Regions from separate parts of the Homo sapiens genome. Here region 2 is linked to region 1. The links are contacts of gene promoters, found by promoter capture Hi-C in blood cells and fetal thymus (Javierre and others, 2016). All regions are on one chromosome and are shown on one strand. Each heading gives the region's core, a stretch centred on a gene start or on the middle of the fragment in contact. The rest is flanking DNA. Distances are from core to core; before and after follow the strand shown. Region 1 holds the start of ENTPD5 (ectonucleoside triphosphate diphosphohydrolase 5 (inactive)). Region 2 holds the start of ZFYVE1 (zinc finger FYVE-type containing 1).

The links. Contacts are between HindIII fragments. The CHiCAGO score rates a contact against its expected background, and 5 or more counts as called.
Region 2: a contact is called between the fragment with the promoter of ZFYVE1 here and the fragment with the promoter of ENTPD5 in region 1, in 1 of 17 cell types (fetal thymus). The highest score is 5.1, in fetal thymus.

The regions. Positions count from the first base shown.
Region 1 is chr14:74,017,970-74,020,674 of GRCh38, forward strand. It overlaps ENTPD5 (ectonucleoside triphosphate diphosphohydrolase 5 (inactive)), which reads right to left and starts at 1,319. Exons shown (of 16, transcript NM_001249.5): 1 at 1,281-1,319. BBOF1 (basal body orientation factor 1) reads left to right here and starts at 1,380. Exons shown (of 12, transcript NM_025057.3): 1 at 1,380-1,565. The coding sequence starts at 1,510. RefSeq lists silencers at 677-971, 887-956, 997-1,136, 1,147-1,216, 1,247-1,496. The HindIII fragment of the contact is 9,186 bases long and covers 1-2,705 here.
Region 2 is chr14:73,025,822-73,028,753 of GRCh38, forward strand. ZFYVE1 (zinc finger FYVE-type containing 1) reads right to left here and starts at 1,285. Exons shown (of 12, transcript NM_021260.4): 1 at 1,105-1,285. RefSeq lists a silencer at 988-1,197 and an enhancer at 1,428-1,627. The HindIII fragment of the contact is 5,815 bases long and covers 1-1,981 here.

The sequences.
Region 1 (2,705 bases), core at 69-2,568:
CCAGGAGTTCGAGACCAGCCTGGCCAGCATGGTGAAACTCCATCTCTACCAAAAATACAAAAATTAGCCGGGTGTGGTGGCATGCACCTGTAGTCCCACTTACTGGGGAGGCTGAGGCAGGAGAATCGCTTGAACCAAGGAGGTGGAGGTTGCAGGGAGCCGAGATGCCCCACTGCACTCCAGCCTGGGTGACAGAAGACTCTCTCTCAGAAAAAAAAAAAAAAAAGTTTACAAGGCTTATCATTACCAAATCGGCATGTTCCCTCAGAAGAAACAGAAATTCAGAAACAGAAACTATGCAAGTGGGAAACAAGGCGGAGGGGAGTAATTAGAGGTCAAAGACATCGGGAAGGAGTGTACGGATTAAGTCCTCCCTAGAGAAATGGTGACGAAGGATCTACAACCACATTTAAAATAAACTTTTTAATTTGAAATGGAGTATAACAGAGCAGAGCTTCAACCACAAGTCTCCTAACTATTGGCTTGGCACTCAGAATACCGTACCTTCCTTAATGACTCACTGACTGACTCTCATTGAAAAATGAGAATACTTGTGAGTACACTCCTTTTCAGAGGTGTATTCGGGATTTCAGGAGTCGGGGAGGCAAGTTGAAGAGCTTCCAACTTTATGCAACTTTCAGGAAAGAAGGCTGCGGACCGGTATTAGCAAATGGAAATCCGGGGGGCGGTCGTGGGCAGGAAGTATCGGCCACACAGGACCTAGTGAGGCCGAGGACCCTGCTCCCGACCTCGGTGGCAGCACTCCCCTCCCCGCCCGGCTCCCTGGCGTGCCGCTGCTCTTCGGAGGCTGGCAGCCTCGCCCTCAACCACCGCCCTCGGGAAAGTCCTCGACTGCCTATCAAAAAACATTTGGCCTGGGACGTCCGCTGGCTGCACTATCCCTTACAGAATCAGCAAGGGTGAAAAGCCAGGAAAGAGATGCAACCCAAAGGAGTAAGGCAGTGCCGGGAGCGGCAGAAGCGGAGCGGGGGCGAGGGCAAGGTAGCCGCGGCCACGCTGGCTGCGGCATGGAGACACGGGAGGAACGGGACCCGCGGGCGGCACGGGAAAGGGCTGCGGCTCAGACCACTGCGGCGGGACGGGCGGATCAGCGGGGATCTAAGTCTCCTGAGGCAAGGGCGCCCCGACCGCAGCGACTCCTGACACACCCAGGCCGCAGGACGAAGCGCTACCGCCTGGGGCTGCCAGCTCCCGCCTCCCGCCCGCAGAGCCCGGGCCCCACGTAGAGGATCCGGCGCCGCCGACACTCGCACACTCACCGCGCGCGCGCCACCCTTGCGCGGCAGCCCGCCGCCCTCGGCGCGACCTCCGCCCCACCCCGCGCGCCGCGGCGCCTGGGCTACGTCACGGGCGCGTGCGCTCTCCGCGCGCCGTCAGCGGCGCGGGTGGGGCATTGCCAGCTCGGCGTCCCGGTTCCCTTGGAGACAGAGCTGGCCAGGGCGGCCGCGGCTGGGCAACTACGACAGCGGAGCCCCTGGGGAAGCCAAGATGCCGTCGAAGGGAAAGGACAAAAAGAAAGGCAAGAGCAAAGGCAAAGACACGAAGTAAGGAGAAGCCACCCGAGAGTCCCCTCTCCCTGGGCCTGCCTGGGATTTCGGGTCTGGGGCTGGCAACCTGGCGCCCCCCGCGCCGGCCCACTCGGACCCTCTCCCCGGCTCTCCCGGCTTGTGAGGATTACAGCTCCCATGTCCATAGTCTGGCAGATCTCTACTATGTGTTCAGATTATCTTAAACGTGTAGAGGATGTATAAAGTAGTTCCTTGGGCCTTTTCAGAGATCTCTTTTGGTTCAAAGGGGACACCTAAAGTATTTTACCAAGTTGGATAATTATTGAGGTTTTCCCAAACTGATCAGAGCCACTGAGGTGGGTAATGTTCTAGCACTAACCCCTTACAGGCCTGGAGTTGCTGCTAGATTGCTACTAGCCCTATTGGGGGACCCCGGTGGTTTCTGGACACGTTGGAGTCATACGTGGTGTCCAGCAACAACACCATATATGGGAACACAGAGTTGGCACCAAACTTGAGATGTTTGTAAAGTAACTTAAGAGAGTAATTCATGCTCAATACAGAAAGTTTGGGAAACATGGGAAGTACCAAAAGAAAAAACAAAAATCACCTGTAGTCTCATTATCCAAAAATAAACACTACTATATTTTGGAGTATTCTTTTTTAATAAAACGATAGCCCAATGTACATACTTATATGTGGCTTTTTTCTTCCCATTTGTTAATGTAAGTATTCTTTTATGGTATTTTTTTTTTGTTTTTACATAACTGCACAGTTAGTCTAGCCCTTAAAGTGCCAAGGGCTTATCACATTCCTAGAACTCACTAACATATGTTTTCAGATTTTGACCATGCTTCTACAGTACACATTTGAACAATGAGGAACACTAAGGGTAAGAGACCTTATTCCTTGGATTTTCCATGACCCATTGTTTGAGAAACCTGGCTTTGTTTCTACAGTGAGTATCAGTGGTCCTATTAGAGTGTCTAATTTCTTGCATCAAGTACTTTTTTTTTTTTCTTGACACCAAGTTTTGCTCTTGTTGCCCAAGCCGGAGTGCAATGGCACGATCTCAGCTCACTGCAACCTCTGCCTTCTGGGTTCAACCAATTCTCCTGCCTCAGCCTCCCGAGTAGCTGTGATTACAGGCACCCGTCACCACGCCCAGCTAATTTT
Region 2 (2,932 bases), core at 35-2,534, 990 kb before region 1:
GTTCATTCAGATATTAAATTCAGAATCTAAATCACTAAGTGAGTAGTCCTTGGAAGGACAGCCCTCTGCACCCCCACATGCATCCCACAATTGGGAGGAGTGGAGAGGCCTTCACAAAGCTAATGAAAATGTAATAATAAACTTTAGATCTATCAAATACCTGGGCCGACCTGGTTAGCCTTGTAACTGGATTGTTTCAACTCTAGCTAGATGTATATTAAAGACTCAAAACTTAGAAACAATAGTAACAATTTCATCTTTAAAAACAATTTTTTTACACTGTAATTCTTCTGTCCCTTCTTTCACTAACTGAAAAAAAAAAAAAAAAGGAGCAACAGGAGACAATTCCTCTACTTTGACCCATGGCAAAGCCAGGCCTGCAGTGAATCAAAACAAATAATTTTTCTCTTTGTCACTTAAAAACTAACTTAAAAATAACTTCAAAATACGAAAAAAGATAACTGGGGCAAGAAAGGGGCTTTTGTCACTTTGACAATTATATTCCTAATTCCCCCTAGCCTTGACCCGCATTCCAAGGCCCCGACAAGGTGTAAAGCCCTGCCTTTCTGATAGTCACTCCTCCCCTACAGTAATCAATCTATCAACCTTATTTTCAGATAAACAAGGAAGGCGAAGGGAGTGACTAGGGGATCTTATTTACTACAATCTAACCTCAGACATGCCCAGCCAGCTCCCAAAACAGAAACAAAAATCAAACTTGTCACAATTGAGAAAAATATAAAATCAACCTTCAAAAGTACACCTCACGCCCGGCCATGTCAACCAAACATTTTGCCCACTCGGGCCCCCACCTCGACACCTCTCCCCAGCCGGGGGTTCCTCACCCTTCCTTCCACCCGGACACCACCGCCACAACCCGAGGGGCAGGAGCGGAGCCTAAGAACAAAGAAGGTCCCCCAAAATCCCCCCCACGCCGGCAAAACCCGGAGCCGAATCCATTGTTTATACCACCCCACCCCCACCCCCGCCGCACCCGCCCCCCCTTCCTCCCGAGGGCAGCCTGAGCCCCAGGACGATCACTCGCCCCGCGCTGGGCCGTGCCCTCCCCGCCCTGCCCTGCCCGCCGCGGCCCGGGGATCCCACCACTGAGAAGCTCGGCCGCAGCAAGGCGGCGTCGGGGGGCCGCAGGGCGCCAGTGGGGGCAGAGGCTATTCCTCAGGACACCGGCAGATCCATCCTCATCTCCATCTCCGCCACCCTCCTCCTTCGTTGCCTCCCGGGCTTCCTCCTCTCCTGTTGTCAGTTGGGATCAGCTGATCGGAGTGAACTTCTCCCAGCTCGGACTAACAGGAAGGCGTGAGCGGTGCAGCCCAGAAAGGGAGGAGCGAGAGAGGGAGGATCCCGGCGCCAGCAAGGGCGTAGTGCGCACTGCCTCCTGGGAGATGTAGCTCCTCGAGGCGCGCTCTCGCCCCTCATCCCGGAAAGGAAGACTCTGAATGACTACAACTCCCAGTACTGAAGAGGCTGCTCTTGCGAGGAGGCGGTGGGGACAGGCTACGGAGGATTTCGGGACTTGGAGTTTTTGCATTGAGTGTGGTGTCCGCAGGTTTCAGCACGTTCTTTTGGGTTGTAACTGGGGAAGGCATGGTGCTACATTAGAGAACTGATGTAATAATGTCTAGTATAAGTGGGAAATGGTGAGTCAATTAATTTGGATTCAAGTAACCTCTTGCACACCATTCCCTCAGAAACGTGTGAGCACAGACAGTCTCCACCTTCCCAATTTCACTTCGCAAAAACTAAGGAAAAGACCAGAAAAAGTGATAAGAGGATATAGGTACTCTTGGGAAGTTTTTGTTGTTTTTCCCCCCTTGGCAAAGGACAAAATTACAACGAATTTAGTTTTAAGATCTCAGTTGGCTTTATTGCGACTCTAGGATCAGGCAACACTTCATTCCAGAAAGTGGAGTGAATGTTCTGATGAGCTGAGCAGGAGAGGTTGGCTTTGTAGACAGAGAAAAGCTTGAGGAAGCAAAAGCAAAGAACAAAGAGCATATTGGTTTCTTTCTTTCTCTTTCTTGTCATTCTTTTCTTTCCTCTTTCTTCTCTTTTTTTCAGTCTTCTCATGGGACCTTGACATATTGGTCACTTCTAAGCTACTTTCCTTGGAAGGTGAGGACAGAGAGACAGAACAATAGAAAAATAACTGATTAGTTGACATCAGTTACTTCAGGCTACTTCTTTTGTGTAAGGATTACAACAGAGGGAGCTTCATTATCATGCAACATTAAAACAAGCCTGTTTGGGAAACTGGCTGTCCTTATCCCTCTTTCCTGATTTCTCTGAAGGTCAGATAACAACTTAGCTTGGGTTTGGTAACAACTTAGTTTGGATTTGGTGAGGTGAAACTTTAGCATGGGTGACTCCATTTTTATTTTAGCCAGGTCTATTGGGGCCTGGTGCAGGAGTTTAGTCCAAAACAAAGGCCTCCTATCATTTTTACTTAACACCCTTCAAGGGTATTCTCCAAGCCAACCATGAATTTTTTTTCCTACCTATTATTTTTCTGATCTTTCCTTCTATAGTTTCAGAACTTCTCAGGCTGGGCGCGGTAGCGCATGCCTGTAATCCCAGCACTTTGGGAGGTCGAGGTGGACGGATCACCTGAGGTCGGGCGTTCGAGACCAGCCTGACCAACATGGAGAAACTCCATCTCTACTAACAGATACAAAATTAGCCGGGCGTGATGATGCATGCCTGTAATCCCAGCTACTCGGTAGGCTGAGGCAGGAGAATTGCTTGAACCTGGGAGGCAGAGGTTGCAGTAAGCCGAGATCACGCCATGGCACTCCAGCCTGGGCAACAAGAGGGAAACTCTGTCTCAAAAAAAAAAAAAAAAAAAAGCTATTATACTTTCAGAACTTCTCAATTTGAAATTATCTTTGAGGGCCAGGCACGGTGGCTCATGCCT